7 separate regions of the Homo sapiens genome follow, and all the other regions are linked to region 1. The links are contacts of gene promoters, found by promoter capture Hi-C in blood cells and fetal thymus (Javierre and others, 2016). All regions are on one chromosome and are shown on one strand. The core of a region is centred on a gene start or on the middle of the fragment in contact, and the rest is flanking DNA. Distances in the headings are between cores, read along the strand shown.

What was found. Contacts are between HindIII fragments. The CHiCAGO score rates a contact against its expected background, and 5 or more counts as called.
Region 2: a contact is called between a fragment that was not itself captured here and the fragment with the promoter of WASHC5-AS1 in region 1, in 1 of 17 cell types (neutrophils). The highest score is 7.9, in neutrophils.
Region 3: a contact is called between a fragment that was not itself captured here and the fragment with the promoter of WASHC5-AS1 in region 1, in 1 of 17 cell types (neutrophils). The highest score is 6.3, in neutrophils.
Region 4: a contact is called between a fragment that was not itself captured here and the fragment with the promoter of WASHC5-AS1 in region 1, in 1 of 17 cell types (neutrophils). The highest score is 5.4, in neutrophils.
Region 5: a contact is called between a fragment that was not itself captured here and the fragment with the promoter of WASHC5-AS1 in region 1, in 1 of 17 cell types (monocytes). The highest score is 5.7, in monocytes.
Region 6: a fragment that was not itself captured here is called in contact with the fragment with the promoter of WASHC5-AS1 in region 1 in 7 of 17 cell types (erythroblasts, M1 macrophages, M2 macrophages and 4 more); the score reaches 10.5 in erythroblasts.
Region 7: a fragment that was not itself captured here is called in contact with the fragment with the promoter of WASHC5-AS1 in region 1 in 10 of 17 cell types (M1 macrophages, erythroblasts, M2 macrophages and 7 more); the score reaches 15.8 in M1 macrophages.

Annotation. Positions count from the first base shown.
Region 1 is chr8:125,038,538-125,042,351 of GRCh38, reverse strand. It overlaps WASHC5-AS1 (WASHC5 antisense RNA 1), which reads right to left and starts at 1,668. Exons shown (of 2, transcript NR_170219.1): 1 at 1,573-1,668. It overlaps WASHC5 (WASH complex subunit 5), which reads left to right. Exons shown (of 29, transcript NM_014846.4): 24 at 2,454-2,557; 25 at 3,393-3,522. The HindIII fragment of the contact is 6,314 bases long and covers 237-3,814 here.
Region 2 is chr8:125,689,791-125,693,604 of GRCh38, reverse strand. No RefSeq gene overlaps it. Among named protein-coding and RNA genes, the nearest start is that of LINC02964, 170 kb to the right of the region's middle. The HindIII fragment of the contact is 6,595 bases long and covers 1-3,814 here.
Region 3 is chr8:125,652,005-125,655,818 of GRCh38, reverse strand. All of the region lies in intron 6 of LINC02964 (long intergenic non-protein coding RNA 2964), which reads right to left. Among named protein-coding and RNA genes, the nearest start is that of LINC02964, 130 kb to the right of the region's middle. RefSeq lists an enhancer at 1-718. The HindIII fragment of the contact is 4,038 bases long and covers 32-3,814 here.
Region 4 is chr8:125,633,992-125,637,805 of GRCh38, reverse strand. All of the region lies in intron 5 of LINC02964 (long intergenic non-protein coding RNA 2964), which reads right to left. Among named protein-coding and RNA genes, the nearest start is that of LINC02964, 120 kb to the right of the region's middle. RefSeq lists an enhancer at 938-1,047. The HindIII fragment of the contact is 7,632 bases long and covers 1-3,814 here.
Region 5 is chr8:124,467,210-124,471,023 of GRCh38, reverse strand. It overlaps RNF139-DT (RNF139 divergent transcript), which reads left to right. Exons shown (of 2, transcript NR_108047.1): 2 at 3,366-3,814. Among named protein-coding and RNA genes, the nearest start is that of RNF139-DT, 5.4 kb to the left of the region's middle. The HindIII fragment of the contact is 3,127 bases long and covers 169-3,295 here.
Region 6 is chr8:124,487,744-124,491,557 of GRCh38, reverse strand. It overlaps RNF139 (ring finger protein 139), which reads right to left. Exons shown (of 2, transcript NM_007218.4): 2 at 2,940-3,814. TATDN1 (TatD DNase domain containing 1) reads left to right here. Exons shown (of 12, transcript NM_032026.4): 12 at 2,862-3,060. The coding sequence ends at 2,964. Among named protein-coding and RNA genes, the nearest start is that of RNF139, 15 kb to the right of the region's middle. The HindIII fragment of the contact is 1,041 bases long and covers 1,708-2,748 here.
Region 7 is chr8:124,508,332-124,512,145 of GRCh38, reverse strand. It overlaps TATDN1 (TatD DNase domain containing 1), which reads left to right. Exons shown (of 12, transcript NM_032026.4): 7 at 3,458-3,543; 8 at 3,632-3,672. It overlaps MIR6844 (microRNA 6844), which reads left to right and starts at 3,570; the gene lies at 3,570-3,631. The HindIII fragment of the contact is 1,769 bases long and covers 966-2,734 here.

The DNA.
Region 1 (3,814 bases), core at 419-2,918:
AGCTCATGAAATGTGGGTTGTGGGACAGTGAAATGCAATTTTTAATTTTATTTCATATTAATTTAAATATAAATAGCCACACATCGCTAGGAGCTGCTGTACTCAATAGTGCAACTCTAGAAAAATCTTGGAGAAAGAGTGATAAGCCAGATATCTCCAAAGAGGCAAATGAGTAGGTAGAATAAGTTTCTCATCCATCCCAGGCTCCTTAGCCTCTTCAGCAGCTTATTAAAGCTTGAAGTGCGTGAGTACCAAAAATAGAAAATGTCACTAACAAAGATTCATTGTGCAGTAAACGAGAGCAAGTTATATTAAACTGACTTTATTTCTATTTCCAGTTCTAGATTGATATTTTCAAGAGGATCCTTGACACAGAGTATACTACACATAGAAAATTAAGCAAAGAATTATATGGGCCAGATACAGGGTTTCAGGGACATTTTTATGTGGCCTGAAAGAACCTACTATTTTCTTGGATTTGCTGCATTCTAATTTTTAAATAATGCTACTCTATAAATTCAAACACTTCCTATTTATAAATAGCATTTTTGGATTGACGTTTTTCACATAAATAGAGTAATAGTCTTGTATGAATAGTGGTCAAAAATAATACATCTGAGGTCATTTAATACTTTTGACCATTACAAGCTCCATTTAGCTAAGTAACTTTTGCTCATTCTTAGAGAAGGCCACCCTCCTTTTCTTTTTTTTTTGAGACAGTCTCACTCTGTCGCCTGGGCTGGAGTGCAGTGGCACAATCTTGGCTCACTGCAACCTCTACCTCCTGGGTTCAAGTGTTTCTCATACCTCAGCCTTCCAAGTATCTGGGATTACAGGTGTCCACCACCATACCCAGCTAATTTTTTTATTTTTAGTAGAAACAGAGTTTTACCATTTTGGCCAGGCTTGGTCTCGAACTCCTAGCCTCAAGCGATCAGCCTGCCTCGGCCTCCCAAAGTGCTGGGATTGCAGGCGTGAGCCCCTGTCTTTTCCTTAACTCTTCTCTGCCCCCAGCAACTCAGAGGAAATGCATTTATTTCCACCTTATTGCTGCTTGCATTATAATACTGTCTTCCCTCCTCTCCCCACCTCCCTCACTCCCCTTTGCCAGTCTTTTAGGAATACTTTGTCCGAGTAGAAAAGAAGACATTTATAGGCAGAAAAAGTTAGAGTGTGCTGTTGACCTTATGATGCAGACAACATTATGAGGGCAAACTGAACTCTCAAGCCTGACCCAAAGATCGCTTCCTATCATCCAACCATTGCAGATAATCTCCAAGTATCATTTATGCTCATAGCTACTTTTAAAGTACTGTAGTTAATACACCATCCTAGCATAACTCTATATCACAGATTTGTTCTTTGAATGGTTAATTATATTTCATTACAACTGGCTTCCACTGTTACCCTCTATGTTTTATTTTGTACATTCAAAAACGTTATTCTGAAATGGTGTCCATAGGCTTCACCAGATTCCCAAAGGGGTCCAAGGCTATATTAGTCAATTCTCACATAATAAAGACATACTCAAGACTGGGTAATTTATAAAGGAAAGAGGTTCGATTGACTCACAGTTCAGCATGGCTGTGGAGGCCTCAGGAAACTTACAACCATGGTGGAAGTGGAAGCAAACATGTCCTTCTTCACATGGCAACAGGAAAGAGAAATATAATCAAAAGGAGAAAAGCCTCTTATAAAACCATCAGATCTCGTGAGAACTCATCCACTATTACGAGAACAGTATGGAGGTAACCACCCCCATAATTCAATTACCTCCCACTGGGTCCCTCCCATGACACATGGGGATTATGGGAACTACAATTCAAGATGAAATTTGGGTGGGGGCACAGCCAAACCATATCAGACACACAAAAAAAATTAAGAACCCTGGATTAAGGGGCTATCATTGTTAAAATTTTCGTGAAAGATTTTATGTAGATTATTTTGTAATCCAGATAATTATAGAACCTATAATCCTGAGTGGCATGGACAGACTTAATATTCACCCAATTTGAGAATACTAGTGTGAAATGGCATTCCTAGAGCTTGAGAAAGTTCCATTTAGGATAAATAAAAGGAAGTAAGTAAGACTTCTCACAGCAGCTACTAAATTTGGAGCACTTATTCCAAAAGGTTAAAAATATAGCTTCAAAAAAGACATCTTTGATACATGAACAACTGAACATTAATAGATCACTTTGTGAATCATAGACTTTGGGGTATTTTTAGGTTGGGGTATGGGAATCCATCCAGACATTCCTTGAAGGGCCTCTGGTGCTTCATTAGATCCAGTGCTGGTCTTAGCCAAGAGATCAGTTCAGGAAATCCTTATTTTTTTTCCTGTAGAGTGATGTGAAGGCCCAGTGAAGAATTGTCATCTTTGTGTTTACCTCCTCACTGTCACTCTGAAATGCTTGAATGCACTACCTGTTCTTTCTCTTGCTTGTGCACAGGTTGGGCAGATGCAGATTCTGAGACAACAGATTGCCAATGAATTAAATTATTCTTGTCGGTTTGATTCTAAACATCTGGCAGCTGCTCTGGAGAATCTCAATAAGTAAGTGCCAGGGTTTGAAACAGCCATCCGTGGGCTTGGATTGTTTATTATCTACGCACCCCAGTTTCTTCAGTTCTTACTCTTTTAAGTTATTTTTGGGTGGAAGGTCTGAATTTACAGGCTTCCTTGCCACGGATAATCAAATCTGTCTTCGGAGCCTCTTTCCTCAGTATTGTCCCTCCGTTTATCTCTGTCTCTCACTCACTCTCTCTAATGGATTCGTGTATTCAGCAGACAGGTACTGATCACATGATTCAATACATGTCTGCTGAACAAATGAATTCATTAGAGAGAGCGAGTGAGAGACACACCAGACACTGCTAGATACTTGCACAGATTTTAGAAAGCAATTATTACCAAAATCCGCAACTGGCTTTTTACAGGGCTGATCACTCATCATCCAGAGGGCAGTTGGAAGTGTGTTGATTACCAAGAGTGGTTATGGAGGCCTGTCCTAGAGGGAACTCATATCCTCCGCCTCACCAGCAACCTGCTGTCATTTGAGGCTGCCTACTTACAGATAAATAATCTGTGCTTCTCACTCACCAAGTCAGTGCTTTTGACAAAGCAGGTATTAAGAACAGTTCAGTCAATACATGAAAATTTGAATGGTGAATGCATTTGATTGAGGTTGATTCCAAAAGATGAAGTAATTCTAGGTCAAATTTTCCACTTAAAACCAATCACAGGCATGGTTGAGAATTAGCGAGATCAAGCTCTCATTTTACAGATGAGGAAACTGAGGCTTGAAAAGATTACATCACTGCCCTATATTAACTCTTGTATAAATTCATTTACTCACTAATGTTTATCTCCAGGGTTTTTCTTCCTTTAGGGCTCTCCTAGCAGACATTGAAGCCCACTATCAGGACCCTTCACTTCCTTACCCCAAAGAAGATAACACACTTTTATATGAAATCACAGCCTATCTGGAGGCAGCTGGCATTCACAACCCACTGAATAAGGTGAGTAATTAAAATATATAATGGCGGGGATGGGGGTACAGAATGGTATTTGGCCCAGGTAACAGATTACTGTGCAGAAATACCAGAGGAACCTGGGTTCAGACCCCAGAGCCTTCATTCCATTCAGTTCCCTGCCCTTTCTAAGCAATCATCACACTTTCCCCGCCTGGCTCAGGTCTGTGAGAATCAAGTGCTATAGCGCTGGTGAAAGCTCATGACAAAGGGGAAGGTGCTGCCTCCGTGTAAGAGATTAGTTTTGGGTTTCACTGGGGTTTGCCGTTCAGTCATCAAG
Region 2 (3,814 bases), core at 683-3,182, 650 kb before region 1:
CCGAGATCACACCATGCTTTAAATTCCAGCACTAAGAGTTAGCGCAGTTCTCCAAATGCAAGCTCACTGCCCTGACTTGGGCCCCCTTTCAGCTTGTCTGGGGATGCGCTAACTCTGAATGCCTGGCCTCAGAGGGCTGGTACAATGGAAAGTGCTCGGCTGATGAACGCTACATGCCCAGGTCTGACTCTTGGCCCCACCACTTGCCAAGTCACTTACCCTCTTTCACCTTCAGTTTCCTTGTCTGTAAAATGGGCCTAAGCACACCTTCCTCAATGTGAGGATTAGGATAAGGCCTGTGTCTAGCAATCTAAAGAGTAGCTCTCTGTCCCTTCTCTTCTGCCTTTCCCTGACATGAGGCCAAAAGAGTGATAACCCAGTGGAACACCCAACCAATCAGCAGTTGTCGTTGTTGTTGTTTGTCTTATGCCCAGATAGGGATTGGGGGTTGGGAAACAGGTGTGTCACAGCTTCATGATATGGAAATGCCCTGAGGCCTTTGTTTATAAATACAGATCCTTGGACTGCACCCACAGAGAGCCCATAGATCTGGATTTTTAACCAGCTTCTAGAGAATAGTGGCCCCGGTGGTCACCAGGCCACCCGCTAGGGCGCACTGCCCTTCAGTCATTGATTCCAACATCACAATATCCACCATATCTTCAAACCATCTCATTATTTTTAACTCAGATTTTATACATCATTTTTATTCCAATCAACATGCTTTTGTAACTTTAAATAATCTGTTTTTAAATATCCTTTATACCAGTACCACAAATGCAAATATATTGAAAGGAAATATGACAGGCTGTTTAACAGGAACATGGGCCCTGGAGCCAAAATTGTCTGATAGAAACCCCATCTCCACTGTTTGCCAGCTATGTAAATTTAGACAGTTTGTAAGACTCCTTAAAGTTTCTGTGTGTCAACATCCCCATGTGTACAAAGGGGATAATAAGAATATCTAAAGATAAGGCTGTTGTGATGATTAAATGCTTTGCTGTAAAGCACTTACAACAGTACCCAGGACAAAGTAAGCCCTCAGTAAATGTGAGATATTCTTTTTTTTTTTTTTTGAGATGGAGTCTCATTCTGTCACCCACGCTGGAGAGCAGTGGCGCGATCTCGGCTCACTGCAACCTCCACCTACTGAGTTCAAGCAATTCTCCTGCCTCAGCCTCCCAAATAGCTGGGACTGCAGGTGTGCACCACCATGCCCAGCTAATTGTTGTATTTTTAGTAGAGATAGTGTTTCACCGTGTTGGCCAGGATGGTCTCGATCTCTTGACCTCATGATCCATCTGCCTCGGCCTCCCAAAGTGCTGGGATTACAGGCGTGAGCCACCACACCCAGCCCAAATGTCAGTTATTCTTGTTGTGACAAATAATTAAATAAATAAATAAATAAATAGTATCACTTGCTACAGATAGAAAATAACCACCAAAAAATGCATAACTGTGAAAAGTTATTAAAAGTTCATCCACGCACCATCAAAGGCATCTGTGTGTCATCAGTAGTATACATTCCACACTCAGGCAAACACTGTTGCAGAAAGTGCCAAGAAACTCTACCAAGTGGTGCTGTCACCGGGCAAACTAACTTGGGAGTTACTCTGGTGTTGCTTTAGACTTAATTCTGAGGTTTCCATTAACCTGAGAGCTGCATGTGTCCAGGGAAAATTCCCTTTGGAATCCACTGTTTTGGTTCATCCAAAAGCAGCTGGAAAACATCTGTGCCCAGGGATTAGGAACTGATTCCTCCTCTGTGGGAAAGAAAGCAGTCTCTCAAAGCGAGCTGCTCAGCAACAGGCTCATTAGCACTTTGTACTTCTTGAGGTTTGTTTATCTACAGATCTCAACATGCCTCAAAACATTCATTAATGCTCACAACACCCGGTCAGCCCAGAATCACAGTCCCCATTCTGCAGATGGGAAAATTGATAGAAAGGGCTATTAAGTGACTGCACTCTTAAGTGACTGAGCCATTAAGGCACTGTTGAGCAAAAGAAGAGTTGTGGCAAGAAGAAAAGTGATGACTCCTGAGGATCCGGGCCTGCAGTACCACCCCACTAATCAAGCATTCGCCCTGGGATGGAGACACGCAGATGGCAGGAGGCCACACGGTTCCCTTTATTGTTCCCATGACAGTGTGGGAACAGGATGGCATCTTTGGAGAGAATTCCAGAAGTGCCAGGCACTGGGCATTTCATACATTTTTACTGGATGAATATGTGGAGGGAATTTTCACGAAGGAGTCCAATTTCTCCTTCCCATCCAATTTCCCACAAGAGGAGTGAAGATAATTCCAGCAGGACCTAGAGCTAAGCCAGATTTGGTTGGGAAATTTATAGCCCAGAATAACAAACAGGTGCGTAGATAGTGTCAGGAAAGGAGGCCAAGAACATGAAGGCATCGCATCCAGGGAGTAAGATGAAGAATAGAACCAGAAAGCAGGACCATAGCTTGAAGCTATGGAAGAGGTTTAAAACAAGTTGTGAAGATGAGATGTATAAAGAATCTTCGAAATGTTCATTTCTTTTAACTCAAAAAAAAAAAAGTTAAGGAATCTCTTCAAAGCAAATATTAGGAAAATTATATAAAGGTTCCTATACAGTTGTATAAAAATATCTGTAAATATATTGTTTTAAAAGTGTAATCCAGGGCCAGGCGCAGTGGCTCACGCCTGTAATCCCAGCACTTTGGGAGGCTGAGGTGGACAGATCACAAGGTCAGGAGTTTGAGACCAGCCTGGCCAACATAGTGAAACCCTGTCTCTACTAAAAATACAAAAATTAGCTAGGCATGGTGGCACACACCTGTAATCCCAGCTACTCAGGAGACTGAGGCAGGAGACTCGCTTGAACCCAGGAGGCGGAGGTTGTGGTGAGCCGAAATGGTGCCACTGCACTCCAGCCTGGGCAACAGAGCAAGACTCCATCTCAACAACAACAACAAAAAAAGTGTAATCTATACTAACAAAAATTAGAAATAGGCCGGCTACAGTGACTCATGCCTATAATTGAGGATTTTGGGAGGCAAAGGCAGAAGGATCACTTGAGCCCAGGAGTTTGAGACCAGCCTGGACAATAAAGTAAGAATTTGTCTCTACCGAAAAATGCAAAAAAAAAAAAAAAAAAAAAAAAAAAAAATATATATATATATATATATATATATATATATATATATATAAAATCTAAATATTCAGAATTAGGGATCGATTTAAAGAGGTTATGTTACGCCAATACTACAAAACCATTAAAAATATTTTTAAGAAAATTTAATTATATAAACAAGATCATAATAAACAAGTGAAACTTCAGGATACAAAATAATTAACGCAATCATAAAGATACCAGTATTTTATACTTAAAGAAAAACTGGAAGAACATAGCATTAAAGTATGTAAATAATTTGGTTGGTGGAATTGTGTGCTTTAAATGCATATATATGTATTTACTAAAATGTCAACAATAAGCATGTATTATTGTAATTTAAAATATTAATTGTTTAAACTTTTACTGTGAATATTATTGAGACTTTACCTACGGACTTGTTCTACCCAAGTGAAGGCTATGAGGTTCTAAAACAGATCCACAGACTTAAAGAGGCAGATTGTACCTGTTGTCTGGCTACTCCATGGTGTCCGAGTAGCCAAGGTGCTCCCAGCCCTCTACATTAATGAAAGGCATCACAGAGCATGAGAATGAAACCTGGAATCAGAGTCAAGAGAACTCCCTGGTAGTCCCAGGTAACTCCCTTATCCACTCCATAGCCTTGAGCAAGGCACTTCATTTCAGATTCCTCATCTAAAATG
Region 3 (3,814 bases), core at 801-3,300, 610 kb before region 1:
AAAGGCTCTGGTGAGGTGATCTCAGGAAGCTTCCTGCCCTCCCTGTGAGGAAGGTAGGAGTCGGGCCTCATTATCATCATTTTACAGATGAGAAAAGTAGGTTCCCTGGTGACTAAGTCCCTTGCCTGAAGTCAAACAGCCAGCAAAGGGTGGGACCCAAAAATAAGCATATCAGTCACCTGACTCACAGGACATCGTTGCTCCAGAGCTCCCATCCCACAGAAGATGGCCTGTTCTTGGGAAGTCTGAGCCGCATTTGGAATGTTAGGGCACGAGGTGGTCTGCAGGGGCTATCTCAACCACTTGACACACACGGATACTTCCACACACACCCAGAGACTTGGCATCAGCTTTCTGCAACATCAAATGTCTTGACAGTCTTCTCACATTAGCCATTTTATGAAACCAAAGACCTCAACTTAAAAATCACAATGCAGTTCACCCCTTGGCCCACCTATAGGCAAAGCATTTCAGAAGGCATACACAATTGTAGCAGTCATCTTATGGAACTTTTCCCCAGGTTCGTAGAGTTGTGCCTGGCTTCAAATGGCTGTTCTACCCCTCACTATTCCCAGGACATTTGCAAGTTACTTAACCTCTCTGAGTCTCAGATCCCACATATGTGAATTGGAAATATGTAGGCTACCTCTCTTACTGTGTTGTTGGAAGGATTCAGTGAGGTCTGGAATGTAAAGTATATGGTACAGTGCCTAACATGTAGTCATCAATAAAAAACATTAGCAATTATTAATCACACTGATTATACAAGTGACCCAAGTACAAAATGTAATTCTATGTTTTCTTTCTGTTCACAGTCTGGCTACTAAGGAATTAAGTCAAATCTTAATATTTAACCAGTTCCCTCCCTTCCAGGCCAAGGAAATTTATTTTTACTCTTAATCTCAACCACCTGCCATGTTTTACAGAGGAGGTAATTACCCTTAGTGCAAAGGATACTTGTTATAGGAAGACTCTAAGAGTCTCAGAGATGGGTCTAGCTTGTGATGGCTTCAGAATCTCCTCTGGAGCCCTGCCTTGGGCCTTCTTAGTCTTGTCACTGCTGTCTGGTCATCAACAGGTCCAGCATCCAACCAACTAAAGGTAGCCAACAAAGAAAGGCCAAAGGCTAGTTCCCAGTTGCAAGATGACATATACTTCTTTGGTTGTGACTCCAACAGCATCCTTGAGTTGCACAGTGTCTCCTGACCTGGAAGACCATCCCTCCAAATGAGCCCTGGTCATCCAATGTGCTTGAAGAGGCATGTCCTATTATAGGCTGTTATTCTTTTTGAATATTATGGCTGCACTACATGCACATCACTGTTCTGTGCTCATCCCATTAGCACATCCCACAGGTCACCTGCAGTTGGGTGACAGCTCCTGTATACTCCTCCACCTTCTTACTCTAAGTTCCTACATCTCTTGGACTGTGGTCTTTATCTGCCACAGGAATGCACTTGGCCCTCTCTCAGGGCAGACCAGGGAGATAATGCTTCCAACTAATAAAGGACAAGCATTAGTAGATAAATGCCCTAGTGGCCTCAGCCCCAAGTGGACAATTCTGAGATATGTCCCATTCTGTTTCTCAATGGAGTTCTCAGCACAGTTGAGTCTCAGATGAGTGCAGCAGCAGCTACTCAGTCATGCACCCTTTACTGGCGGCCTCCTGCCTTCCTTGACTCCCTTCCTCACTCCCCTACCAGAGCCTCCTAGTATCACCTCCAAATTAACTGCTGGCACCCAAGTCCTTGTCTGGGATCTGCTTTTGGGAAAGCCCAAACCAAAAAAATAAAAATAAAAATAATTCAATAAAAATAGCCTTTCTTTAAAAACGGCATAAATAATTTAACTAATACAACTATATTAAATAGACATTGGCACTGAAATACAATATGGAACAAAACTGACAAGCATGAAACCTCTTGCTTGTAGTGCTCTCTCTCAACAGAGCGTAGTGCTCTCTCTCAACAGAACAACTACCACTGAAATCTTCCAGGACTTTTTCCAATCACACCCCAAACTCCTGCGTTCCCATAATCTCCCAGGTATTGAAGACTTCCACCTTATTCCTGGGTTTTCCAAGGGCTTTATTGCCTGTTAGGGGCCAGGATTACGATGAGACCAATGAAGTCAGGTTGTACAAATCCAAGGCTAGAGCCAGTCTTTATTTAAAAGTTTGACAATTTGTTCATCATCTTTTGGCAGTGATTTTGAATTTTAAATCATTGCTTTAAAATTTAATTTATCTTGATTACTGAGGTTTTCAGCATCCCTTAAATTTAGCACCCAAAGTTAGTGCCTCACTCACCTCATATTATCCCCAGCCATAAATATGAAGTGAGTCCTACAAGAGCCCATAGCCAGCTAGTGTGAAGCTCTCCAAAACCAATTAATTAGACTCCTCAGGGCCAAGATGGAGCTGTTCATTGGTTCATTCAATGTCAACTTACTACTATACTCTTTGATCCTTTTCCTTCCAGCTCCCAAACTTAAAGGCAAAAAATAGATCAGAGTACTCTGTAATTTTTTTCCTGCATGATCCTCAGAAAATATTTGCTTACCTGAGGCAAGGCATGTTCTCAATAACTTATTCAATGAGTGTCCTTCTCATCCTAGATGTACACCTCATCTCCATCAAAAAGGGTGCCCTTTACTTAGCTCTGCAGATGTTACATGTTTAAAACACTGGCTAAGAGGGCTCCAGTAAGCCTATTTTCCACTAAGACTTTTTAAATTTAACTTTGGGAGTTTTGTCCTGAAAAATGTGTAAGTATTTGGAATCTATAAAAACAGTTTTGTTGTTTTGGTTGTTGCTGTTGTTGTTGTTGTTGTTTTAGACGGAGTCTCATTGTTGCCCAGGCTGGAGTGCAGCAGCGCAATCTTTGGTCACTGCAACCTCCACCTCCCAGGTTCAAGTGATTCTCCTGTCTCAGCCTCCTAAGTAGCTGAGACTACAGGCACCTGCCACCACGTCTGGCTAATTTTTTTGTATTTTTAGTAGAGATGGGTTTCATCATGTTGGCCAGGTTGGTTTCGAACTCCTGACCTCAGGTGATCTGCCCGCCTCAGCCTCCCAAAGTGCTAGGATTACAGACATGAGCCACCACGCCCAGCCCAAAGACAATTTTTAAACAAAATTATTTCACCTAATGTGCTGTATCTTGAGTGTTTTTTAAATTTTCACATGTGCCTTATAGTGGATGTATTTTCTTTTTGGTTTTCGATTTTTTTTTTTTTCTATTGCCGTGTAACACATTGCCACAAACGTAGAAGTTTAAAACAACAGTCATTTATTTTCTCACAATTTCTGCGGGTTAGGAGTTTCGCATGGCTTAAGTGGGTTTTCCAATTAGGGTCTCATCTGGCTATGGCTCAAGTATCGGGCAGGCTGCATCCTCATCTGGAAACTTAACTGGGGAAAAATCAACTTCCAAGCTCATTCAGGTTGTTGGCAGAATTCATTTCCTTGTGGCTCTCTTAGTGAGGGTCCTGGCTTTTTTCTGACTGTTGGCTAGAAGCCGTCCTCAGGTCCTAGAGGCCCCCACAGTTCCCCATCATGCAGGCCTCCCCAACATGGTTGCTTGTTTCATCCAGCCCACAAGGAGAGTCTCTGATACAGAATCTGATATAACATAACTCAATCACAAGAGTGACATTCCATCCCCCTTGCCATATTCTGTGGGCTAGGAGCAAGTCACAGTTCCTCAGGCAATCGACAGAAGGAGATTATACAACAGCATGAACACCGGGAGGTAAGGATCATAGAGGCCACCTTGAAGTAGGTGCCACAATAAGAGTCTCTGCCTTAACTTTA
Region 4 (3,814 bases), core at 774-3,273, 600 kb before region 1:
CCATTCCCACCACCAGCCCTCACTGCCCCCACCACCCCCTCCTTCAGCTGTGATAACAGGATTTGTTTTCCTCTGCAGTGGGCTCCGGGTTATGCATGCAAGCAACTAGGTGAATGTTCTGAGGCTGTCAGGGTTTCTCAGAATGAGTCATTTTTTCAAAAATAACAAAACCTCTCGACATCACTTGATTTCGGCATTCTCACAGGCTCTTGTAACCTCTTTTGCAATTGCATTCCAAGCACGCCTGACTTCTTTCTCAGGCCTGATGGTAAGTCCCTCTCCCAGGAGAAGGGCTTTACTAATAGAAACCAAGCCTAAGATCTACAGGTTCTGGTCCACAATGCAGTTAGGTTTCAGGTGATGGAAGGGAAATGACTGGAGGCTAAAAGGGCAGTGGGTGAAAGAGGCATAAAATCAGAGAGACTGGCCTGGCTTCCGACCCACAGAACCCACTGGACTTTGACAACCGCCCTGCCACCTTGCCTTTCATATGCTAATGAGGACCGGCTAATAATCCCAAAAGTGATTTGCTCAACGTATCACAGTTTTACGAAGCACATTTCACTTCCATCACCTCATTGTATGGTGAGAGCATTCAAAGCTCCCAGAAGGTTGAAGAGGTTGAATGTCTCGCCCAAGCCCTTGCACTTGGTGATGATAGTCCTAGGTTATTGACCCACGCCCTTTACCAGTGGTATCTTATTTACTCTTTATTCATCAATGCTGATAGGTGGGTTATCATTCTCCTTTGTCTAGATAAGAAAACGGAAGTTCAGAGAGGTTAAGAAACTTGTTCAAGGTTACACAGCGAGTGGTAGAGCTGGAATCAAAACCCAGGTGTCCGGCCTCAAAGCCTGTGTCTTTTCCAATACACCACATGCAAATACTGATCTCAAAGAACTTTGCACATTACTCCAGTTGCACTGTGTGTAATTAACACTTTATGTACCTGTGTCTTAAAGCAAGGAAAATGGTTTATTTCTCTCTATACCCTCAGCCTACAGCTTATTAACTGACATATACACATGCAACCATTGTTGGATGAAATTAGTGATGGACTTCAACCCTGGCCCTCAGACTACAGACCTCTAGGCCTGGCCTCTGCACACACCGCTGCTCCCACTCTGAAGTCCCTGGAGCCTGTGATACCCAATAAGCCCCCAGATCTCAACCTGACTCCTATACTTACTGGCCTTGGTAAAGACACCTCACCTCTCTAGGTTCCAGATTTTCTTATCCGTGTACATATTGGACAGGACATATTCAGGGGGCCCTCTAGGCTCTCACAGTTGATGGTTCTGGAAGTGTGTTAAGTTTTCTCAAGAGAACGGACCCTAGCACATTTGTTGGTTGAATTCTGTTTGTTGACAAAAAGGGTGGAGCAAAAGTCATTAACAAAGTTCACAACATTGGCCCAATGATACTCTTTGCATTTACTTTTGTCTCTATAAGATCCTTGCACAAAAGGAGAAGTGAAAGATTACAAGTCTTAATTTTGGATGCACAAAACTGTGTGTGAATAAAATATATACATATAGACTCAATGTAATTATTATTTTTGCTCCTCCTTGAATATCCATGCCAGATGTCACTTTCCTACAACTCCCACTGTCTCCCTGTCACCCCCAGCCCCAGGCAGGGTCTGTGACCCTCCACCATGCTTACCTAGGGGCACTCATCATTTCCCCATTGAAACTGCTAGGTCATTTACCTATATCCCAGGAGACTGTCAACCCATGCTTCTTTATTTCCCACCAGACTCTGTGTCTGGTGGTTCTCTATATCTCCAGCACTTCCCAGAATGCAACTCGGAGATGCCATGGAAGAAATAGTTGATGATGACACCAATTCACTAATACCATGCTTTTGCAGAATCCTTTGCTCTTCTTAGGGCACGTTCACATGATAACTCTGCAAAGTGAGTGGTGTTTGTCTCCTCATGCCCATTTTACAGATGAAGGAGTGAAGATAGAATGCTGACCGACTTCTCCAACACTATATAACCATGAAGCAGAAATGCCCACACTCCAATTATAAAACCAATGAGATTTAGTGGAGACCTTAAAGGTCACCTAAAACAAAACTCTTCGAACCTGCTTTTACCAAAAAAAATTTTTTATATATATAAAAAGTTATATGTTTTGTATATTTATATATAATATAAATATATAATATATAAATATATATTACATAATATATATTTTTATAAATTTGTGTGTGTGTGTGTATACATATATATATAGAGAGAGAGAGAGAGAGAGAGAGAAGAGAGAGATATTTTCTTCTCTCCCCGGTGGAATCTTACTCAAAATCACAATTTAAAAGGTGGGGGAAGGACCTGCTCTTGAGAAAGGAAAAATGGAAAAACTAAACATCCATCAGATGAGTCCCTCAACCTACCCTCAGGAGGAAGGGAGAGAGTTCCTGCAGCCCAGCCACCTGCAGCTTCATGACCACCATTGGAGAGCCACTGATTCGAACAGACATTCTAGAACTCTTACGTCGGCATTCTCATCGGCGTTCCTTCAGCTGTCGCATGCCACCTCTCTGCAGTTGCTTTCCTCATTCAAAAACTTTCTTGGCCACCACCGTGTGCTTAATGCTGTCAATCATACCAAATATATTGGGTCTGGGGTCCAATGATCCACTTTGATCCCCATTTCCACTGTTTCCTGGCTAGGGACTTTGGGAAAGTCACTTAATCTCTCCTTAATCCGTGGCTGCTTCATCTGCAAAATGTCCCGAAGGCTTGGATTAAATCAAAATCAGTTGCTGCATGCACATCAACATGCTGCACATGGATCTCAGCACCTGCACATGCTCCCCAAGCACTGACTGCATCCGCTCTTTCAGGGCTTTCCAAAGTGTGGTACATACACCACTGGAAGGACATGAAGTTATCATTCTCCCTTATCTAAATGGGAAAACCAAAGTTCAGAGAGGTTAAGAAACTTATCCAAGGTTACACAGTGAGTGGCAGAGCTGGAATCAAAACCCAAGTGTCCAGCCTCAAAGCCTGTGTCTTTTCCAACACACCACATGCAAATACTGATCTCAAGGCACTTTACACATTACTCCAGTTGCACTGTGTGTAATTAACACTTTATGTATCTGTATCCTTACATTTCTTTAGGATGCACACAGTTTTTTATTTTCATAATCACATATTTATATTTACAGTAACTTGTTGTTACTCACAAGGGAGTTGGGCTTACATTTACAACAGAGAAGTTTCTGTTAAATATAGAGAGGGTGTGGGTGGTCTTGCTCTGTCACTCTGGCTGGAGTGCAGTTGTGTGATCATGGTTCACTGCAGCCTCCACTTCCTGGGGCCAAGTGATCCTCCCACCTCATCCTCCTTGAGTAGCTGGGACCACAGGTGTGCACCACCATGCCTGGCTAATGTTTTAAATTTTTTGTTCAGATGGGGGTCTTCCTATGTTGCCCAGACTGATCTCGAACTCCTGAGCCCAAGCAATCCTCCCACCTCAGCCTCCCAAAGTGCTGGGATTATAGGCATGAGCCACCATGCCAAGCCAAAGATATGTATTTAAGAATGAAAATGTGGGTTGACTTCAATTATCTGGGAAGCAATGTTACAGATGGGAGACAGGTTAGCCAGCATCATGAGAGAGCACCTGAATGACAGAGTTCAGGAAACTCCAAGAATCAGAGAGTTACAGGCACAGAGGAGCACAGTGAGGGGAGGGCGGGTGGGGCGGCAGCCTTGTGTGCAGCTTGTTTTCCACCTCCAGCCTGTTGTCTCTCTGGAGGTGATGACAGGTGCCCAGGCAGCACAAATTATTCTATCAGG
Region 5 (3,814 bases), core at 483-2,982, 570 kb after region 1:
ACAATCAGATCTCATGAGAACTCACTATGGTGAGGACAACACCAAGCCATCAGGGATCAGTCCCCATGACCCAAACACCACCAGGCCCTACCTCTAACTGGGAATTACATCTCAACATGAGATTTGCAGGGGAGATCCAAATTACATCACCATCCAATTGGTCAAGCTTATTGGATCATGTATCTGCACCCTAGCTTCTGTAGTGGGAGGAGGCAGTAGGAAACATGCACTTGGATTTAACCCCTTCACTCCCCACTTCTACTAATATGTATTTTCTTCAAGTGGAAGATAGGGATACTGGTAGGAAGGGTAGTGTCCTAGTCTGTATTCTGTGGTTTATAACAGAATGCCTGAAACTGGGTAATTTATAAAGAAAAGGAATTCATTTCTGGCAGTTAGGGAGGAGGCTGAGAATTTCAAGGTGGAGGGACCACATCTGGGGAGAATCTTGTTGCTGGTGGGGACTGCAGGGATCAGGGGGGCTGAGCATGCCCACTCAGGCCTTTCTTCCTCTTTTTATGAAGCCACCAGTCCCAGGCCAGGCACGGTGGCTCACGCCTGTAATCCCAGCACTTTGGGAGGCCGAGGTGGGTGGATCACCTAAGGTCAGGAGTTTGAGACAAGCCTGGCCAACGTGGTGAAACCCCATCTCTACTAAAAATACAAAAAATTAGCCTGGCGTGGTGGGAGGCTGAGGCAGGAGAATCGCTTGAACCAGGGAGGCAGAGGTTGCAGTAAGCCGAGATCACACCACTGCACTCCAGCCTGGGCAACAGAGCAAGAGTCTGTCTCAAAAAAAAAAAAAAAAAAAAAAAGCCACCAATCCCACTCTTATAGTAACCCATTAATCTATCAACCCATTAGTCCATGAATGGATCACCAGCCCTCATGACCCAATCACTTCTTAAAGGCCCCACCTTTCAGTACTGCCATATTGGGGATTAAGTTTCCAATGCATGCAATTTGGGGGACACATTCCAACCAAAGCAAGTAGGATTGATGGTGAAAATATATGCCATAACTTTTTCTCAGACCCTGGGAATTACTGCAATTGATCTCTTATCCTAAATTACTTTATGGTTTTTCTCTTCTCATTAAAGTAAATTCAGATGTGCCCATCAAAATTCTATTTGAATTTTCTGGTTTTGTAGATGCCAAATAAATAGTAAGAGTTTGTTTTTGCTACTTCTACACTGCTGTGTATGTAGAAGTGGGAATGTAAACTAGTACAACCACTATGGAAAACAGTGTGGAGACTCCTTAAAGAACTAAAACTAGAATTACCATTTGATCCAGGATTCCCACTACTGGGTTATCTACCCAGAGGAAAAGAAGTCATTACATGAAAAAGATACTTGGACATGCATGTTTATAGCAGCACACTTCGTAATTGCAAAAATGTGGAACCAACCCAAATGCCTATCAATCAATGAGTGGATAAAGAAACTGTGGTATAAATATATGACAGAATACTACTCAGCCATAAAAAGGAATGAATTAATGGCATTCGCAGCGACCTGAATGAGATAGGAGACTATTATTCTAGGTGAAGTAACTCAGGAATGGAAAACCAAATATCATATGTTCTCATAAGTGGGAGCTAAGCTATGAAAATGCAAAGGCATAAGAATGACATGATAGAATTTGGGGACTCGGGGAAAGGGTGGGAAGAGGGTAAGGGATAAAAGACTACAAATTGGGTTCAGTGTATACTGCTTGGGTGATGGGTAGACCAAAATCTCACAAATCACCACTAAAGAACTTACCTGTGAAACCAAATACTACCTGTTCCCCAAAAACCTATGGAAATAAAAAATATTTTAAGTTTGTTGCATAAGTTAAAGGAAACAACAGAGAATATAGTGGTATTTGAAGTAAATGTTGAGTATATACTGACTGTGGTTTGTTCATTCAGCAGACATTTACTGAATACTTTCTATGTGCTTGGCAGTATGCTAGCCCTCTTCTGCCTCTTTCTAGTTCTGTGTCTTGAGGCAAAGTATTTAAGCTGTCTAATCTTTAGTATCATTTGGGGAAAAGAATATTGCCACATAAGATATGAAATACATGACATGCACTATCCAATTTAGCCCTCACCAAACTTGTCCAAGGACACAGAACTAATCAGTCAATAGTAGTGGCAGAGCCAGGTTTCTGATTCATATTTTTCTGATTCCAGAGCCTAAGATCTGATCCTCTGCAAGTATGTTCTCTTGCTTTTTTACAAGAATTAAAGCAATACATCTTAAATACCTAGTATAGCATGTAGTAAACCAATTGTAGGAGATACACTCATTGGAACCCCTGTTACTACACACAGCACTTTGCAGTGCACAGCACTTTGCAGTGACTCCATTTATGACTCAGGAGTGCTGTGAAGATATTAGTTCGAATTATTGTATGAAATAAGTAGGACTTAATTTACATTAGAATATGAGTGAATGATAAAATATGTTCATCTTCGGTGACGGTCAAGCATAATCTGAGGACTGAGATACTGCTGAGAGGAAGAATACAGGTAATACTTAAGTTGAAAACATCTGTCAAAGCAGAGAGCCCAGAGAAGATGGCTATAGTATCCCACTGATGGGAAGTATAGGACCTTTCACCTTAGGTGGGATCCTGTAATCCGGGTTTCTGATAATTGCTTCTCATTTCACAGTTACACCCAACTGGATATAATAAAACTTCAAGATGGAAGATTCAGTATTGTAAAGATGTTGACCTATATATTCTATGTAATCTCAATTAAAAAAAAATCTCAGCAGGTTCTTTTTTCCAAAAATCAAAAAGCCAATTTTAAAATTCCTAAGAAACTGGAAAAGGTCAAGAATACCTAAGGCAGTCTTAAAAAACAAAGTTGAAGGATTTATACTGTGAGACATCAGGACCTATTCTAAGCTATAGTAATGAAGACGAGATAGTATTGGTGCATGGATAGAAAAACTGACCCATGGAACAGAACAGAACAGAAAGTCTAGAAAAACTCCACACATATAGGGTCACTTGATTCATTAGAAAAGTGACACTAGAGTGCAGTGGGAAACATGATAAGCCAACAATATAATAGGACTCTGGATACTGCTTAACAAAGGACAGCATATCACTTAATGGTGAAACATGCTGGAAGCATTCTCCCTAAAGTTAAGAGTAAGAAGGTTGCTCACTGTCACCATTACTATTTATCATTGTATTAAGAGGTGGGGGCTGGGAATAAGGCAAGTTAAAATGCTTCCCTGTTTACCAAGATTTAGCTGTTTTTCTCAAATAGAGGCACCTCAGATTATTTCAAGCTTTTAGTTACTTTCTAGAGTTCTGAAAAAGTTGACTGACCATTTTTGCCTGTGTTCTCATTGCTTTTATAGAGAAGCCAGTATTTGGAGATGTTTACCCTGCTGTTTTGGAAGTTGTCCACTTTACTTGATATTGGGACATATCAAGAGACCACTATATGGTCTTGAGTGTAAACTACAGGTATATTCCTTCCTGCCATCATCGTGTAGCAATAACGCTATTTCCTCCTGATGATTGGATTCATTTACCCCAACTAACATGGTGACTCTTCCTTGCCTGCTGGTCTCCTAGCACAAGGACCTTGAACCGGGAAACCTCAGCAAGTTAAAGTTTAAAGGATCTATTATTGTGTCTCTTGATGAAAAGGTTCCTCTCTTGGGAATCAGGACTTCTAATTCACAAAGTTGCGGGGATGAGAAGTCCAAACTCCCCACTTGGGTCACTGGGAGTGAGAGTATGTGGTTATATTAATTTCCTATCACTGCTATGACACTACGAACTTAGTGGTTTCAAACAACAC
Region 6 (3,814 bases), core at 979-3,478, 550 kb after region 1:
ACATAAGCAGACAGAGTCCAAGATAGTAGTGCTGTTATACAAGTAGGAATCTATGACCAGGACCATAGGGCACATCAACTGTCTGCTTTGAGGGGAAACAGGAGAGAGTTATACCAAGGTGACATTTCAGTTGTTTACCCATGACTGGGAGTTAGGCCAGAGAAAGACAAACAAACACCTTAAGCAAAGGCAGACTGCAGAAGGGCCTGGCTAATCCAGAGGAACAAGTGTGGCAGAAAGTAGGATGCACAGTGTAAGCAGAAGTCAAGTCTGGGAAGGTAGAGTGAGCCCAGATTGTGAGGGCTCTTATATGCCAGCATTTTGCTTAGATTTTATCACTACCCAAAGGATTTTAAGCAGGAGAGTGGCAATTATTTTTTTTAAAGCTATAACTTGTATCAGTATGGGGAAGGGCTGGAAAGGAGATAGGGTAGGAATCATGTAGATCTTGCAAGACTTTAAAAACCTTTGCCTGGCTGGGCACAGTGGCTCACACCTGTAATCCTACCATTTTGGGAGGCCGAGGCAGGCAGATCAGTTGAGGTCAGGAGTTCAAAACCAGCCTGGCCAACGTGGAGAAACCCTGTCTCTACTAAAAATACAAAAAAATAGCCGGGCATGGTGGTGGGCGCCTGTAATCCCAGCTACTTGGGAGGCTGAGGCAGGAGAATCACTTGAATCTGAGAGGCAGAGGTTGTAGTGAGCCAAGATCACACCACTGTGTGATCACACACAGTGAGCCAAGATCACACCACTGCACTCCAGCTTGGGCCACAGTGTAAGACTCTCTCAAAAAAAAAAAACAAAAACCTGTGCTTACTGTAAAAGTGCCACATTAAACAAAAGCCACTAAATTCTCAGGGACATTAAACAACTTTATATTCATTTTGGAATAACTGCAGCTTTGACCACTGAAGATGTATGGAAATAGCATGGCTTGGCTACAGAAGGGTTATTCGAAGAAAGATTTCCATAAACTGCATTATCAAACAGTAAAATAGGATGTCCTAAGCTCCAATAGATTTTTTTTTCTTTTTTCTTTTTTTTGGAGAGAGAGTCTCGCTCTGTTGCCCAGGCTGGAGCGCAGTGGCACAATCTCAGCTCACTGCAACCTCCACCTCCCAGGTTCAAGCAATTCTCCTGCCTCAGCCTCCCGAGTAGCTGGGACTACAGGCGTCCACCACCATGCCTGGCTAATTTTTTTTGTTTTACTAGAAATAGGGTTTCACCATATTGCCCACACTGGTCTCGAACTCTTGAGTTCAATCTGCCTGCCTCAGCCTCCCAAAGTGCTGTGATTACAGGCATGAGCCACTGGGCCCAGCCCAATAGATTTCTTATAAGCGATTTCAATAAAATGAATTTGCTATGCAATATAATCTTAGCAAAGCTGCTGTGACCTTCAAAACTGTGTCATCAGCAGCATTAATCAAGAGTTCCAATTCTGAGAAGTGCATACAGAGGGACATTCAGTAGTTTCCTAAGAAAAATGGATTTTCACTGTCTTAATTTAAATGTTAATAGATTTGCTTTTAGTGTATCTTGACTGTCAGATAAAATTTTAGTGTAGTGTTTGCTTAGTATAAACATCAAGCAAGGCTTTTGTGTCACATTACAAAACAATTTTTTAAATTCCCATTAATCTTAGATCTCCATCCTTAATTCCTTTAGGTGTTAACATTTAAGATACTAAGGGAACAAAAAGCTTAGGCAAAGAATATTTAAATGTTCAATTTGGACTTTGGAACTTTCTAATTCATGTATTAAAAATCTTCCACTTATATATAATAAGTATGGAGACACTACGGATCATCATTACTGTAAGCACAGAAACTGAAAGATGCGGCCAGGCGCGGTGGCTCACACCTGTAATCCCAGCACTTTGGGAGGCCCAGGTGGGGTGGATCACAAGGTCAGGAGTTCAAGACCACGGCCAGCCAACATAGTGAAACCCCGTCTCTACTAAAAATACAAAAATTAGCTGGGTGTGATGGCAGGTGCCTGTAATCCCAGCTACTCAGGAGGCTGAGGCAGGAGAATCACTTGAACCCAGGCGGCAGAGGTTGCAGTGAGCCGAGATCGTGCCACTGCACTCCAGCCTGAGCAACAGAGTAAGACGCCGTCTCAAAAAAGAAAGAAAAAAGAAAAAAAAAAGAAAGGAAAGAAAAAGAAAGGAAAGGAAGGGAGGGAAGGGAAGGAAGAGAGAGACAGAGAAAGAAAGAAACTGAAGGATGGACACCTGGGCTTATTTCTCTCGCAAGGGTAGAGGTACAGAAAGCCCTCGCCCTCAATAACCACACATTTTTCCAAGTAAATATTACTTTTGCAGCAACCTAATACCTTCATTTGCTGTCTCTCAAGGACTAGTTCTCTAGCAGTAGATTTCCAACTGTGGCTGCTGTCCCACAGTACAAATTACGTTGTGACTTAGGACACACATACATAATAAAACCTAACAAAAAATGGAACAGTACTTACCCTTATTGAGTACAATGTACTTGTCAATGTTTAAAATGCTCATCATGACCCACTAATGAACATGCTATGACTCACAATTGAAAAGGACTCTTCATTTCCACTCAGTTAATGCTATAATTGGTGAACATAATACAGATGGCTGCTTTAATAATTTACTTGAACCTGGTTCTTAGCTCTAGTTATATGCAAGACAGTCCATAAATCTGTTTCCAGTTACTGGCAGTAAGTTTTTCTATTGATATTGCTGAAAAACTTAATAACTGTTAAGCTTTATTATATTAAAGGTGTGCCAATATTTTCCTTTGTGTGGAAAAATATTATATAGCTTTAGAACTAAATGTATACTTGGAGATTTAACCATTTTTGTTTTTGTTTTGTTTTAGTCAAATATTGGAGATAATGTCAGCAGTGAGAGATGAGGATCCACTGGAATTAGCCAATACACTATATAACAATACTATTAAAGTATTTTTTCCTGGAATATAATTGGTATATGTCTTCCACTTTCCATCATGTATGTAAAATTTCATAGTAAAACTTCCTGATAGTTTCAATAAAGAAATTATCTGCAAGTTGTCTAAAGAAATACTATATATCGGTACACACCATTCCCCACCATTCCCCTTCTTTTTCTCGTAAAATCAGATCAGGATGTTTTTATATCATTGAGTATCTTAGTTTAAAACAATTTAAAAAAAACTATTTTTGTTTTGTAATATCTTCAAAAGAATGAAAGGACAATTTTATGACAATACTGCAGACACAGAATGGCTAACAAATATACAATTTTACATAAAAAACATTTAGCACATTCTGGTTTATATCAAAGTTTAGTTGATACAGTTTATTTGTCAACCCTCAGTCTCTCTCTGAATCAGGACTTTCAAACTCAGCTCAATTACACTGCTACTCAAGTTTCAAAAAAGGTCCTCAGTTGCTTCTGGCAGCTAATTTTTTCTTTAGTTTTAAAATACTCTCTCATGTCCTTTATCCTCTGGTCAAATTATTTTATTTCCTTGACTTTAATGTGGTTTCCTGATTTGCATTTTCATTCTCCCACCCATTTCTAAAGAAAAACTGAGGTCCAAAGTTACATTATATAATTTCATTGAAGAATATTTGGCACAGGTGACGCACCATATGATCATTACATCTATTAAAAAGCTATTTGTTCAAATTTTGTCATAAAAATGTGAAAACATTTTATTCTATGTACAATAATGTACACAAATTTAAACAGGTCACCAAAGAGACCAGAAGTAATTAAAGAGGTATATTTACAGTAGCACATCACAGTAAACGGAAAACCATTCACAGATTCAACATTGATACTGTT
Region 7 (3,814 bases), core at 601-3,100, 530 kb after region 1:
CGGCCATGATTTGTTTTTAAGTAAATATGTAGTCAGGAAAAAGGAGATGTATGAGAAAAGAAAAATAGAAAATTAGGGGGCAAGACAGAAAAATTAATATACAATAGATGTAGTGTCTGAAAAATAATGGTAAGTGAAGGCGGTGTATGACCATGTTAAAAGGATGAGCTTTGGAATCAGCAGATCTTTGGGTGAGATTTACAACTGCCTTTGGTGTCACTTCATCCCTTTGTGCATCCCCTTTAAAATGGGGAGATTGCTGCCTACCTTTCTTAACATAAGGCACATAAAGCCCATAGTGACATGAGTCATGCAGAGTATGTGCACAATCATGGCTGTTGTTACATTCCTCATACTAGAAATAATTACCACCCTAAAGGAAGATGCTAGCTATTGTTTTTGTTTGGAACTTTTAAAAGTTTTTTTTTTTAATACTTTTTTCTTGTTTTAGTACCTAGACCTTTTCTGGAAAAAGTATTTTTTAAAGACTAAGAAAGAGAAGCAAAGAGTGAAAACAAGGAAAGGCCTGATCTACTTATGGAAAGTTTATCCTTTAAGCCATACCCTGTATTTTCAATTTCCTGGCCTTATGCTACACTCCTTTCCTTGTTGCAATTTAGAGCTCTGTTCTCTTGGGTAGGAGGAATTTGCTTTGGGCATTTTTCTTGGGGCTTTAAAATGTTAACACTGTGCAGGTCTTAAAAACTACAACAAGAAGATTTTAAAACAATCCTTTGGGGATTTAGGGGACCCTAGAGATGAGCAATTGAGGCCATGTTGCCATCAAGCAGCTTACAGAGGAGGGATTACTACTTGTGTTGAGGTATACCCATGAAACTCACTGGGCTTTTTGGATTTGCCTTGATCCTAATTAATAACAACTGCTCCTGAAGCTGAACTTTTCCAGCTCTTGTCGTTAGATAGTTAAACCTCAACTGTAAGAAGCAGTAATAAAATCAGAAGCTTCACTAAGATGAGCAAATAACTCAAGTGGAAAATTATTTTCATTTATGAACTTTAAAAAAATAATAAGTGAGTAAAACAGGCAGAGAAGTCTCTTAATAGATGCCAATTCCTACCCTGTAACTTATACAGTTATTTCTAGTTACCATGGCGGGTTTTTCTTCTCTAAAGATAATAGTCGTTTGATGTTCAGTACTAGTTATCCTCAATTTGTATCATTAGGAATAATTTTTTTTACCACATGGCTTCTTTATGATACGTAGCTAGCATGACTTCAGGGACCTTTCTTTTCTTGAATTATGTAAAATTCTGTGGGCCCATTGCTTGGGCTTCTGTTATTTTCTTTTTCTTTTTTCTTTGAGACAGGGTCTCACTCTGTCATCCAAGCTGGAGTGCAGTGGTGTGATCATGGCTCACCGCAGCCTTGACCTCGCCAGGCTCAAGCAATCCTCCCACCTCAGCCTCCCAAGAACTGAGACTGTAGGCATATGCTACCACACCTGGCTAATTCTTGTATTTTTTGTAGAGATGGGGTTTCACCATGTTGCCCAGGTTGGTCTCGAACTCCTGAGCTCAAGCAATCCACCCACCTCAGCCTCCCAAAGTGCTGGGATTACAGGCCTGAACCACACACCCAGCTGGCCTCTGTTATTTTCATAAACTGTACTTTTGCCTACATTCCTATAGGAAGCTAATTTTCCATCCGACCATTAGATACTGTGAATTTGTAGCTTGGTCATGTGGTTTGGTCCATGGAATTGTGTGTGGAAAAAATAACCAGTACAGCGTGGAGCAGTGCACACAATGAAGAGTACCGCCTGCTGTGTGTAGTCAGAGCCAAATATATTAGTAAAGTTGACATAATGACTAGTGCACACTTAACTGCTGACATTTGGTTTACTTTAGAGGTTATGGAAATAGTGACTGGTTATATTATCAAAATCTCTTTTTGTCCAAGTTGTCGTTAATATTTCCTACACTGCAAAATTTCAGCACTTTGTTAATGAAAGGAAAATATTTTTGCTTATTCTAACCCAGCAGAATCTGAAAAGGAGATTTTAAAACCCAAACATTTGGTAATACAGACATAGACGACCTATTTTAGGAAGACTATTTCTATTTTTTTAATTTTTAATTTTTTTTTTTTTTTTTGAGACAGAATGTTGCTCTCTCACCCAGGCTGGAGTGCAGTGGTACAATCTCAGCTCACTGCAACCTCTGACCCTGGGTTCAAGAGATTCTCATGCCTGCCGAATAGCTGGGATTACAGGCATGTGCCAACATGCCGGCTAATTTTTGTATATTTAGTAGAGACGAGGTTTCACCATGCTGGCCAGGCTGGTCTTGAACTCCTGCCCTTGAGTGATCCACCCGCCTTGGCCTCCCAAAGTGCTGGCATTACAGGTGTGAGCCACCACGCCCGGCCTGAAGACTGCTTCTTAAGAAGTACATTTCTATTTCTAATTTTAAAATTTAGCATTTTCAAGAGAGCAAAGGGGGTAAAATAGTCCTGCACATCAGGAAATATGATATAGAAAAATATAGCAAGAGAGGCTTAAGTTAAACAGAGAAATTGTTTCCCCAAATTAAAGTGCTTAGAAGAGGTAAGCACATTTAAGAAAATAATAAGCCACCTGTTATCCTGATTCAGTTGAACCTACCATTTGTGAGAACAAGGGGGAGCACTGTGTTGAAGTGAAAAGACAAACAGAATGAACATTCGTTGTATCCTCTGAATATTGTCATTATACTCCGGGACCAGAAGGAAGCTTCTTGAAAACGTAACAGGTTTTTGTCGTTTAGGCTGGGACTTGGAATTAGAGCAGTGAAGTTCTGTTCCAAGTTGGCCATGCCAGGTATTGTTATCTTGGACAAAGTACTACACCTCTCTGACACCAGCTTTTATACTCAGGTTATTTTGAGGATCAAATGAGACAATGGTATCTGGTACTTGGAAAAACCTTCTTATCAAGTACTCTTTAAGATATTCAGGGCTACCACTTTATCATGTAATTTTCTTTTTTTAATAGCATAATTGAGTTATTTGCTGTTTAGCAAATACTTAGATTTCATTTTTGAGGGAAACCTTGTTCATTTTGCCCAGTGGCAATAACTTCTTTTATAACAGCACATAAAAAACTGGTTGCAAAATGGAATAGATTAGCATGCAGTATGAAGCTCTCCTGGGCTTCTCGCTTGGTGAGTTGACTCCCACTGATGGTGCTCCCAGTGGCAAGGGGCCAGTGGTGTTACTTTCTGAAAATTAAAGGGCCCAGATAATTTTGTAAGCCCAGAAAATGAAGTATTTCTTTCCAGAAGTTGTAAGTTATAAAAGCCCTTTGATAAGCCTGATGTGCTTTAAATATTCATGATTTTTGTCCTGTAATTTCTAGAGAATTAAATACCTTTAATTTAAAAGCTCTTTTGACATCATTACCTTCCTCATGCTAAAATACAATTTGTAATGAGAATTTTTTTTTTTTGCATTATGCAGATATTTTGAAAAACAGTTTGAACTGTCAGAACAAACAAAATTACCAATGTTTCTTCATTGTCGAAACTCACATGCTGAATTTTTGGGTGAGTTAAAACCAAAGTCTCATTCAGAACTTAAGAATTTTGTAGAAATCAAGCTATTTGCTAAAAGTTCTTTGTTTTTAATTCACAGACATAATGAAAAGAAATAGAGATCGGTGTGTAGGGGGAGTGGTAAGTATAAAATAGTCATTTTTAATACAGGTTGAACATCTCTAATCCAAAAATCCAAAATACTCCCAAGTACAAAATGCTCCAAAATCTGAACCTTTTTAAGCACTGGCATGAGATAATGACACCTTTGCTTTCTGATTAT